Linked DNA regions of Homo sapiens: regions 1, 2 and 3 are each linked to region 4. Evidence: promoter capture Hi-C in 16 types of primary human blood cells and fetal thymus (Javierre and others, 2016). All regions are on one chromosome and are shown on one strand. The core of a region is centred on a gene start or on the middle of the fragment in contact, and the rest is flanking DNA. Distances in the headings are between cores, read along the strand shown. Region 1 overlaps LOC101928354 (a long non-coding RNA gene). Region 2 has its middle 440 kb from the start of LINC01108. Region 3 overlaps LOC101928354 (a long non-coding RNA gene). Region 4 holds the start of JARID2 (jumonji and AT-rich interaction domain containing 2).

The links. The method cuts DNA at HindIII sites, captures the fragments that hold promoters and counts their contacts. A CHiCAGO score of 5 or more calls a contact.
Region 1: a fragment that was not itself captured here is called in contact with the fragment with the promoter of JARID2 in region 4 in 7 of 17 cell types (megakaryocytes, M2 macrophages, erythroblasts and 4 more); the score reaches 9.6 in megakaryocytes.
Region 2: a contact is called between a fragment that was not itself captured here and the fragment with the promoter of JARID2 in region 4, in 6 of 17 cell types (activated CD4 T cells, megakaryocytes, fetal thymus and 3 more). The highest score is 8.9, in activated CD4 T cells.
Region 3: a fragment that was not itself captured here is called in contact with the fragment with the promoter of JARID2 in region 4 in 1 of 17 cell types (fetal thymus); the score reaches 6.8 in fetal thymus.

The regions. Positions count from the first base shown.
Region 1 is chr6:14,710,032-14,712,731 of GRCh38, reverse strand. The region is part of intron 1 of LOC101928354 (a long non-coding RNA gene); the gene reads left to right. Among named protein-coding and RNA genes, the nearest start is that of LINC01108, 430 kb to the right of the region's middle. The HindIII fragment of the contact is 644 bases long and covers 1,096-1,739 here.
Region 2 is chr6:14,727,562-14,730,467 of GRCh38, reverse strand. No RefSeq gene overlaps it. Among named protein-coding and RNA genes, the nearest start is that of LINC01108, 440 kb to the right of the region's middle. RefSeq lists an enhancer at 1-41. The HindIII fragment of the contact is 600 bases long and covers 1,339-1,938 here.
Region 3 is chr6:14,671,929-14,674,762 of GRCh38, reverse strand. The region is part of intron 1 of LOC101928354 (a long non-coding RNA gene); the gene reads left to right. Among named protein-coding and RNA genes, the nearest start is that of LINC01108, 390 kb to the right of the region's middle. The HindIII fragment of the contact is 5,373 bases long and covers 1-2,834 here.
Region 4 is chr6:15,244,563-15,247,651 of GRCh38, reverse strand. JARID2 (jumonji and AT-rich interaction domain containing 2) reads right to left here and starts at 1,583. Exons shown (of 18, transcript NM_004973.4): 1 at 1,068-1,583. The coding sequence starts at 1,112. JARID2-DT (JARID2 divergent transcript) reads left to right here and starts at 2,278. Exons shown (of 1, transcript NR_187237.1): 1 at 2,278-3,089. RefSeq lists enhancers at 1,506-1,605, 1,716-1,765, 2,955-3,089 and silencers at 2,376-2,635, 2,646-2,955. The HindIII fragment of the contact is 5,356 bases long and covers 1-3,089 here.

The DNA of each region.
Region 1 (2,700 bases), core at 168-2,667, 530 kb after region 4:
ATTAGAAACCATTTGAGGTAGGGAATGGGGGCTCACACCTGAATCCCAGCACTTTGGGACACTGAGGCCAGGAGTTGGAGACCAGCCTGGTCAATACATGAGACCCTGTCTCTACAAAAAAAAAAAAAAAAAAAAAAAAAAAAAAAATTTTTAGTACTCCGAATAAATGTATCTGTAAAAGGAAAGCCACAGTAATTCAGAGTCATGGTTTATATACCTATTTCACATAAGATGCCACTGTATCTTCTCCTACAATTAATAAGTTGTCTTTTTAGTACAATTCAGGTCTCTTTGCTTTTGGGTCTTAGAAGCCTAATTTTCTAGGCTCTGGCTATCTTTGACTACTAATAATATCATAAAACTATGATAATGATAATAACTCTTATTTATAAGAGTTGATATCAGGCACTGGTGTAAGGGCTTTCCTTACGTTACTGAATCTAATCCGTACATAAGATCAGTGTAGTCAGCATGATTAGTATCATCTCTAGGTTACACATGAGGGAATCAGGGCTTAGAACATCTGAGAAAATCCAGTGACGATAGAGTTTGAATTCAAATTGACATCATTCTGATTCCAGAGCTGATTCTTAGCCATGTCATATTCTAAGTGACGTTGAGATGACACGCATGATCTCATTCAATCATGTGGCTTTAAAATCCATCTATATGATGGGTGAGCCTCAAATTTATATCTCTAACTTAAACCCTCCCCAGGCTTGGGGATGCAACTGCCTGCTGTCATTGTCAGTCCAATTTCTTTCTTTCTTTTTTTTGAGATGGAGTCCCACTCTGTCACCCAGGCTGGAGTGTAGTGGCACGATCTTGGCTCACTGCAACCTCTGCCTCCTGGGCTCAAGCAATTCTTCCACCTCAGCCTCCTGAGTAGCTGGGACTACAGGTGTCTGCCACACCCAGATAATTTTTGTATTTTTAATAGAGGTGGGGTTTCACCATGTTGGCCAGGCTGGACTCAAACTCCTGACTTCAGGTGACCCACCCGCCTCAGCCTCCCAAAGTGCTGGGATTACAGGCGCCCAGCCCCTCAGTTGAATTTCTAACAGGCACCTCACACCTAAGCTGACCTAACAAGCTTGTTCTTGCCCCCTTGCTCTCCCTGCTCCCTCAGTAAATTTGTCTCCATTCAGTTACTCAGGCCTCGATGAAGGAGTCACCCTTGACTCCTCTCTTTCACAGCTCACATGGACACCATCAGCAAATCCAGTGGGATGCCTGTATTCAGAATCCATCCACTCCTTCCCTCCTCCACTGTTGCTGCTCCTCTACTGTCTGTTTTCAACACAGATGTCAGAGTGAGTCAGCTTTTGTCACTTCCTTGCTCAAAATCTTATCTCATTCAGAGAGTTCCAGTTAGTAAGTTATCATCTTTCAGCTCCAAAGCCTTCCTTCAATACTTGATTCTATGCTGGGCCCCTGAACACTGCATTTCTCCTTTGTTGGGCTCCTTGTTGCACTCAGCCAGTAGGGGTTGCTAGAGAGGCTCCTACTCTTTCCCATGGGTATCCTGTCTGCCTGTGGCTCCTGTGTGCAGCACCCCAGTACTGCTGCTTCATCTTGGCAGCAGCAGTTTCTTCCTGTAGCAGCTGTTCAATCTACGTTGCAATTTTTCCTACACTCAAGAACCAGACTCATTGTGCCTTTTTAGGGCCACAGCACTGACTGCCATTGCCCCATCTTTGAGGTTTGGGTTCTAGCCCCATGGGACTGTTTTCTAAGCTTCTAAATTTTAATTATCCGACAGCCCCCTTTTTCTTCTGCCAGCCCCAGGGGTGGAGCTTCCTGAAGTTGTTATACGAAAGACACCTTAGAGTTGTCTTTTTACTCTTTCAGTTACCTGGTTAAGACTTTATTCCTAGAAAATTATTCTTTATATTAAATTAGCCGTGTTAAAATAACTGGTGTGGCTTCTGTCTCCTGGTTAGGCCCTGACTGATGTGCTGAGTTAAAGGTGAAGTCCTTAAAATGGTTTGCAAGGTTGCAAGCGATCTGGCTTCCGGCCACCTCTCCTGTCTTAGCTCCTTCCACTGTCACCGTCATTCCTCGCTCCTTTTGGCCCCTTGCTGTTCTGTAAACACACCAATCCCTCTCCTGCCTCACAGTCTTGGCCCTTTCTGATCCCTTTGCCTGAAAAACCCTGCCCTGCAATTCTACATGGCCTCTCTTTCCCCTGCTTGGGTCTTCCTGAGATGTTACCTCTTCAGTGAGACCTTCCCTGACCGCACCACATAATCCACATCCCCCACTCCCCCCACCCCTGCCTGGATGATTTCTGTCCTTCTTAATCTGCCTTGCTTTTTCCATAGCACCTATCACCATCTGATAGTCTGTTTATTCATACTTGATTATTTGTTAATTCCTGTGTCCCCCTAACTAGCAAATAAACACCCCAACAAGGCAGAACTTTTCCTACTTTAGTGATTGCTACATCCCAGACTTTATAACAGTGTCTGGCGCATATAAATGCTTGAAAAGTATTTGTTGAGTGAATAGTAAAATTGAAGTTCTGGACTGTCAGGATTAAGACTGTCCTAGGCCCGGTGCTAGAGGGAGAATCCTAAAGAGGACGCTGGCCTTAGAGGAAAATGGTAATCATGCTTCCCACACCACATGTCAGGGAGAGCAGATGGCAGTGTCAGCTCACAGTTCGCATGAGTTTGGGGTGTACTTTTGAAGACTGAG
Region 2 (2,906 bases), core at 389-2,888, 520 kb after region 4:
TGACACCAAATTTCCTAGACATTTCCATTATACTTCCTCTTCCTGATTATCTTGAGTGGGAAATCTCCATGAGTTCTTAGTAGAAGGCAGAAGTATACAGTGGACCTGGGCCTTCATTAGAAACCATGAGACTTCAAATGAGAGCCTGAATTATTCCTTTATGTTTTCATTTATGTGAGAAAATAAGGGATATTGTTGACTTTTTATGAGATTAAGTTACCCAGTTATCCATCCTATTATTATAAGTTTTAGTGTTTGCAAAGAGATTTCTGATCGTTTTTATTAGTCTCTTTGTAATAGCTTCAGGGACTTTTTGACAAAAGAGAGAACCATTTTAAGCAGTAGAAATGTAGGCTTACAGAGGTCAAATGGTTAATTTGAGATTGCCCAGCAAAACAAAACAATACGAAAAAGAACACCTGAAGAAAAATCAAGATTCATACTCTGGGCTGTAATTACCATTCTGTAGGTTTCCGGAAGCTCATATAGTCACATTACATTTTGTTCATGTCGTTAGAAATCATTTGCAGTTCAACACTTAGATTCCCTCCTGTGTTTGATTTGCAAGGTCTTGGAAGTTAACTTGAACTCAAGGATTTGTCTACCTAAGAGAGGCAAATAGAAAAACCCCTAAAGCCACCTGACCTGATTCTTCTTTGTTAAGACCAGCTCAGAATAGAGTGAAATAAGCAAGCTGCAGAAAGACAATGCTACGTTGAGTTCCACTTCCTCTTGATAAATTCAGAACAGCCAGTCCATCTTAAGGGTGGATGTTTTTAGCAGCAGGGAGTGGTAGTTGGATGGAGGCAAGCGGATGGAAAGGAGGAGAGAGGAGAAGAGAGACAAACTCAGGTGCCCCAGAAAAGTCCACTTTCTCCGTCCCCATTCAGGCCACCTTCATCTTCCCCCACCCTCTGCTGGCCTTTCTGGGGGCTCAGGTTTTGAGCTGACTGAGCCCTCAGCGGGAGACCACAACGCATTTTCAGATGAAAGGACAACCCTGAAGGTACCTATTACATGTCTGTGAGCAGAGAAACAAAGGCCCGGCTGCTGACACCCTCCCACTAACTTGAGTTTTAATGGTAGGTTTGATTTCCTCACGCTTAGCTGAAAGAAAGGGAAAAAACTAAGCGGAAAGAACGAGGGTGTGGGTATCTGTGGTGGTGGGGAAACGACAGCTGTTGTATTCATGGTTAATCAGGTGTGTCTGGCTTTGTGTCGCATCTGTCTGCTACTGTTGCCAGGCCACATGTGAAAGGGAACCGAGGGGAAGGGGCCATTCATGTTCAAAGCCAGTAGCACTGACCTCTGCCTCGTTCTCTTCAGGGTAGGAAAGCTTGTCTATTTAACTTTCCCTATTATAGGAAGCTGTAATTCTACTCTATTAGCCCACCCTAACCATTTTGGCCTGACAAATGCAAGCTGCATCCAGAATGCCATAAATCTGCATGGGAAGGAGTCCTCCTCCCTCCTTCCCATTTTTTTCCTTTGGGGTTCGGTTCGATTTGTCAAACAAGAGAAAACCAGCAAGAGAGAGAAAAATGAGAACTCAGGGCATCTTGGTTCACCTTCCATCTTAAATGGGCCTAGGGACCGAGATGGGGGCTGGGAGGCACCCCAAGGTCAAGCCTGGAGCACTGGTTCCCCCTCCAGATCTGTTTATCTCACGAGTCCCACATGCGTGTGGTGATTGCGTCAGACCTTAGTCATCTCCCTGGCACCAAATCCTCCTCCTGGATCCTTGATCCCCCTCCTCCTTCTCTGCCCACATACAGAGGGACCATGATGGAGGAGGGGAGGCTTCTGGCTTCTCCTGGAGCCAGGCCTGTGTTCTAGATATTGCTGGCCCAGGCCTGCCAGGCACGACTCTCCTCTCTGGCATATGGAGAAACAGCTGAAATGGAAACAACCCCCAATGCACCACATTGCACTAAAGCTTAGCGTCAGAGTTCAAAGGACTACTCCAATTGGAGATCAAACTGATCCCTCCCACTGTGGCCTTTTTTGAGGGGGTCCATCACAACCCTTCGGGGGTGCTTTTCTCCAGCACTTCCGCTTCAGGGCCAGCCCTTGTGTTTCTTGGAGTAAATGATTGCTGTCAGCATTTCCAACACCATGGAGTTCTGGCTCCAACTTTGGCTTCCTGGAGAATGGGCCATCATAGACTTATTACAGGGTTCAGAAGAGCTTGCCATCTGCAATCTATTTTAGTTGTCACTGCCTCTTAAAATAGGCACTAACTTTTATCCCATCACATTAATTCCTCTCATGTTGAGGCTAGAGTCGAGCTTTTGGGGTGTGTGTATGCACGTAACTATCTTTTTAAAATCAGAAGGGTTATTTTCCTAAGACATGGGTTATCAGCAGCACAGCTGAGTTTCCTCTTTCTACTGGCCTGTGCTGATGAAGTTGGTTGCGTTATTGACCTGCAGCTTTGGGGTCAGAATGCTTTTGGTTCCCTGATGTAGAAGGACATTGCAAAACTATCCCAGTGCCCTGTGCACTGTCTTTCTCTCTCTGATACTCCCCAGATCTCCAAATTTTAATGGTGTCAATAGACATAACTCATGCTCCTGCTAGAAGCCTAGCACCCTGCTAGGCTCTGTGAGGACTTTGAGAATTTGTCATCTTGTGAGACGCCATGAATAATGCAAGAAATAGCAAAACAGGTCTGAAAATGAAGTCTAACTAAAAAGTGTACAAATCCTAAGTGTACAGCTCTATGAATTATTACTAAGTGAATATGCTCACGTAACCATCACCTAGATTAAGAAACAGAACATTACCGCCACTGGAAACTTCTTAAAGTTCTACCTAGGTGGACACCTTGTTATATCTAAAACAATTCTACAACGTGATTGGGAGTGAGATTTAGTTCTTAATTATGTGGCTATGGAAATGTAGAT
Region 3 (2,834 bases), core at 144-2,643, 570 kb after region 4:
AATGAGCAAGCCAAGAGGTAGGGAATCTCAGAGGATGCTGTGCTAAGTTCAGTCACCAGGAAGCAGAACCCAAATGTGTCAACCCTGCCTGAGGCAAAAACCTTTCCAGCTATGTTCTCCTTACGTGCTTCTTGCCAAGGCAGGAAACCAGGGTCTGGGTGCGGGTGGGCTGGGTGTGCAGGTGCAAGCACTTGAGAGGCTGCAGCTGGTGAGGAAAGAGAGTCCTGGAGCCCCAGGTAGGTCCTTACATCCTGAGGATGATGCAAGAAGTAGTGAGTATGGGTACGAATGAATTTTCTGTTACTTAGAATACCTGAAACGGGGTAATTTATAAAGAAAAGGAATTTATTTCTTACAGTGATGGAGGCTGAGAAGTCCCAGGTTGAGAAGCTGCAGCTGGTGAGGGCCTTCTTGTTTGTGAGGCCTCTGCAGAGCGTGGACAGGCAAGGGATGCTCTGCAGGGCATCATGTGGCAGAGGCTGAGTGTGCTAATGGGCTCGCTCAGGTCTCTCTTCCTCTTGTAATAGAGTCAGCAGTTTCCTTCCCATGATAACCCATTAATCCATTAACCCATTAATCTACAAATGGATTAATCCATTCCTGAGGGCACAATTCTTCATAATCCAATCACCCCCTAAAGGCCCCACCTTTCAATACTGCCACATTGGGGGCTAAGTTTCCAACATATGAAATCTGGAGGACACAGTCAGACCACAGCATTGTGTCTGCATGTGCCCTGCCAGGCCTTGGGCAGTGGCAGGTCAAGGAGGGCTCTTTTAAAAATGAAAATAGACTTTTATGATTCTTCTGTTAAAAAACCTTTTGCTGCTCCTATGTTTGTGCCCAAGAGTAGGATTGGAAAGTGACAGCAAAGGGGTACAGGGTTTCTTTTGGGGCAGTGAAAAGATTCTAAAATTGATTTTGGTGAGAAATGAAGAAAAAAGGCCATTGAACTGAATTCTATCTCAATAAAGTTTTAAAAAAGAAAGAAAAATGCCTTGCTGGTTCGTCATTACCAACAGGATATAGGCCCTTCTGGAATTGATTTCTACCAGCCTCTCTGCTCTGATCATCTGCAGGGGTCTTTTTGCCCAGTGCCTCTTTACCTCCAGCCACAGGGAACTATTATACCTTTAGTCTCCTATCTGCATCAGGTGTCAGGCCTCTGGGCCAGGGTACCTGCAGTTCCCTCTTCTTTACCTGGCAGAATCCTAGCTCTGGTCCTGCTAGCGGAGCACAGTTAAGCTCCACTACCATTTCTTTGGCAAAGCCTTCCCTGACATTTGTTGCTCCTCACATTCTTGATTCATTTAGCTGTCATTCTCTGCTGCTGAGCTACAGGCAACTTGAGGGCAGGGACTAGGTAGCTTTAGACTTTTTCTCCAATGACATTCCAAAGGCTGTGTGGGTTATGAGGGGGAGTCATCCCAGCAGGAAGTAGTCTGCGTTGCTGACATCATTTAGGATTGCCTTCATACAGTGATCATAAAAAGCATACTGACACTTAGTGTCATCCTGGTGTTTACATTTTCTACAATGTGCCCTCTTGTTGCTTTGCACCCAAGGCTGACCACTCTCACCGTCCTTGCTTGGTACCTATTTAGTGCCAGACCTTGCACATAGTAGCTACTTTATAAATAAGCCAGGGTGGCTACGTTCAGCAGGGGCCAGGCAAAGGCTGGGAAGGGGGTCTTGTTCTAGGGGAAGAAGCAGCCAAAACTGAGGAACACTTAGACCATGCAAGAGAGAGAAAGACTCAGGGCCTTGGTAGGGCTAAGGCAAGGAAAAGGGGACTCGAGAGAGCTGACTGATTTGATGGAGTATTTACCAGGGTCCAGAAGGAGAAGTCAGATGAAAATGTATATGGTGATGTCTTAGATGTGGCTGCTACAATAAATTATCACAGACTGGGTGCCTTAAACAACAAACATTTATTGCCCACTGGAGGCTGGGAAGTCCAAGATCAAGGTGCTGGTGGGTCTGGTGTCTGGTGATGGCTCACTTCCTGGTTTGGAGAGGGTGTCTTCTTGCTGTGTCCTCATGTGGAGGAGAGCAGAGAGTGAGATCACGCTCTCCTGTTTCTTCTTATAAATAACACTAACCCCATTCACAAGGGCTTCATCCCCATGACCTAATTACCTCCCAAAGCCTCCATCTCCTCAAATCAGGGCATTAGAGATTTAGATTTCAGCATATGAATTTCAGGGGGACACAAACATTCACTTCATAGCAGATGACTATTCCTATAAAAAATTTTCCCCGTGTGCCTTTTCTCTAACCACTTTCCCTGTAGATCTGTCCCTGTGTTTTCACTGGTTTTCCATACTGAGAGCTTTGTCTTTCTCATCAGCTACAAAAGGCTCATGTTGGCTACGATGCTGTCTCTAGGGCCTCTAAGAAAAGCAACTGGTTGACTTTTTATAACCCTTAATTACTGAGCACCTACCATGTTTCAGGTAGAGTGCTATGCTAGGGACCTACTGTATATCAGACATAGAACTGGGCACTTTGCATGCATTATCTCATCCCATCTGTTAATAAAACCTAAGAGTATGTTAGCTAGAGTAAGTAACGTTAGCCACTGTAACAAACAACCCCCAAATCTCAGTGGGTTAACACAATGTGATTATCTTTTATTCATATCACAGCCCAGTGCAGCTTGTGTATGTGTGTGTGTGAGTGTGGGTTGGGCTGGGAGGCTCTTCTCTTTGCAGTTTTTCAGAGACTCAGAATCCTTTCTCTCCTGTGGGGCTCTTTACCTTTATTCTCCTGGCTGCATCAGGTGTCAGGCCTCTGGGCCAGGGTGCCTGCAGTTCCCTCTTCTTTACCTAGCA
Region 4 (3,089 bases), core at 334-2,833:
CAATGATCAAAAAGGGAAAATATTAACACCAATTTGTCTACCCAACTTAAATAAACTTTCCTCTTACGTTGCATTATTCCTAAGGTATGTTCATTTGGCCTTTTTTGAAAAAAAAAAAGAGTTATTTAATTTAAAGCATGCAGCTAATCACAGATCACTCGAGTGCATATTTGGTTAATCCCTCGGTCCCCCTTTCCTCCCTCCCCTCAAACTTAAAAAAAAAAAAAAGCCACCACACACAAAACAAAAACACTCCCCATGCCAATCAAAACGTAGCTGTACTATGCACAAAACAAATTTAACTATTCCAAGCCATTTAAATCTAGGAATAATCACCCAATTTCAGAAGCCCAGTTAACAGGGAGAAATTATTTGTAGTTACTTACATATGCATTCACGTACACACTTAAAAACATTAGCCATAGTGTGTGTCCTTTTCCCCTACAACTGGAAACCATGAATTTTTTAAACAAAACCAGCCTCATTATTAAAGTCAATCCCAACAAATGCATTCGCTGTAACATGATTCCCAACTGGTTTATGTTGCAAACCAGATAAGCCAAAACGACCACAGACATTAAATTTGATGTGCCAGTGCAAAGAGAAGATCGCCATAATCGGACCCTCGATCGCAACTTAAAGGGCTTCCAACACACATGCGTTACACGATTTTTCCAAATAACATTAATAATAATAACACAGGCTCATTTGCATGCAAAGTGCAATACGGGGCCAAATCCGCTTGAGAATGCAGTTTAGTTACATTACCGCAGCCACCCCCCACCTCAAGCTCCACCAAAATCCCTTGCCTTTCATCTAAAAGTAGATTATGGTTGTGTCATTCGAGGTCAATTTATTCACTTGAGGTATCTCTACACCAGTCTGTTTTTTCAACCAAACTAGGCAGACACCACTTTGCTTGAAAAGCCCTCTTTCAGAAAAAAAAGAAACAGCCTTATCGGACGCTGTGTTTAAAACCCTTCAGAGGCAGAATTATCTATAAACTTGACATTCACAGCCATTGCTTAAAACTGCAAGTCAAAGGATGTGTTGTTAGGAGCACTTACGTATTTCTTCTGAATGATATTCCTCTTGGGTCTTTCCTTGCTCATTCTGAGATCCAAATGCTGATTGCAAAAGGGGACAATTGCTTCATGAATTTAAAGCCGTCAGAAATTTGCAAAAAAATATCCTGGTGGTTTTTATTGTTGTTGGTGGTGGTTGATCTTGTAATCCGACTTTTCTTCCTCTTCCCCCAAAGCCAGATTCGCCTTGAAATAAATCCGAAATTGGGAAGGAAAAAAAAAGAGCCAAAGACGAACGAAGCAAACAAAAAAAAATTCACTTTAGTAAAACACTCATAATGGAAAATTTCCCCCGAAACACATACACACACACACAAAAAAAAACCGACGCCCTTCACTCCCCCCCCTTTTTCCTCCAAAAACTACATCAGCGAAACGTGAAGGTCCTTAGTGTCTGATCCGTAGTTACATCTTGGAAAAGAAAAGGGAAAGATAAATAAAAAATGTTGGAAGTCACGTTTGTGCTGCAGCAGCAGTGCGAGCAGAAGAGTCAACTCCAGCGGCGGCGGCGGCGGCGGCGGCAGCACCACAGCGAGGGCTCGCCGAGTCTCTTTTTTCCAAGCCCCCTAACCAATGAGAGAGAGGCTATCCAGCCCAACTTTAAATGGACTCTGCTTTTATACAAGTTAGGGCTCCTCGGATAATTCCCCGCCGGGCGCCAGCCGAAAACTCCCACCGCTCAGCCGCCAGGCGCCCGCTTAGCCTGGTGCCGACCGCCCCTGGCCCAGTCCAGGGCACCCCCGCAGCCTGGCCAACCAGACACCCGAGCGACCTCGACGAACCCCTCCCAGGCAAGCCCTCGGGCGTCGCTCCCACGCCGAGCCCAGGCGTGGAATTGAGAGAGGCTCCCTAGCTCAATGCATGGCACGCTCCGTCGCTCCACCTCACCCCCTTTCCCCTGCCTGCCGCTCACCCCACGGCCGCCCCACGCCAGCCCCCGCCACTGCCTTCGCGTCTACCTGCAGCCGGGCTGCTGGGTAGGAGTGCCCCAGGACGCCCGGCCCCGGGGAGAGCCGCCTATTCCCGGGGCACCTTAGAATGGTCCCCTTGATCTTCTGGAAGTTGTAGTCCCCCGACTACAAAATGGCTATGGCCACGGAAGCTGGGAACTACAATTCCCAGCCTGCCCCGCAAAGCCTGTCACTCAACTCCCCTCCCTCCTCCTCGCCCCCTCCCCCTCACTGGCCGTGCCAACAAACGCTTGGACGTGTCCCGCGTGCGACACTGCTAGAGGCTGGCTCGGGATTGGCCCGCGGAGCGTGTGGTCCGCGAGCGAGGAACTCCCCACGCCGGCCCTCCTCCGCCCCCCGGGCCCCGGCCCCCCTCCCCTGGCGGCCGCCAGCCCCCTCCCCGCGCGCCCCGCCCCCACCCGCGGCGCGAACCGCCTGTGGAATCGAGGAATCGCGCGCGTGCGGCCCGGAGCCGCGGGGGAGGGACGCGAGGCTTCCCCGGGGAAGGCCTCGGAGCGTGGCGGTGAGGGGGGCGGTGTCAGGGAGGGGTTGGAGCCCGTCCTAAGGAAAACTGGGCCACGCACCAAGAGGAATCCTCGGTGCGAACTAGTTGATCGGCGGCGCCTGCTGCTTGTGCCGTGCAGCCGGTGTCACCTCAGGACAGCGCCTCGCGTCTGTGTACAGAGCGTGCTGCGGGCGCCTAGGGTAGTCCGAGGTCACCCCTCTCCGCGCCCCGCAGTCGCGCACGCCCCCACGCGCGGGGTGGGCGGTGGCCGGGGGTCGCCGAGTGGAAAGGCCACGCCCCCCCACGCCCGGGCTCGGCACGCTGCCCCTGGGTCGCGAACGCGCCTCCGCTCGACCCGCTTGGAGGACGTCGCTGGTGGCCCAGGAGTGAAGCCCCGGCGGCTGCCTCCTGAGAAAAGATAGCCGTGTTTAAAGAGACTGAACGGGATCTTTGCTTTGCCGGGCGTATTTTGTGATAAAATACCACAAAATGTTGAGACAAAAATGAGTGGAATATGGAGACCGAGCCGCACAGACACGCAATTGTAAG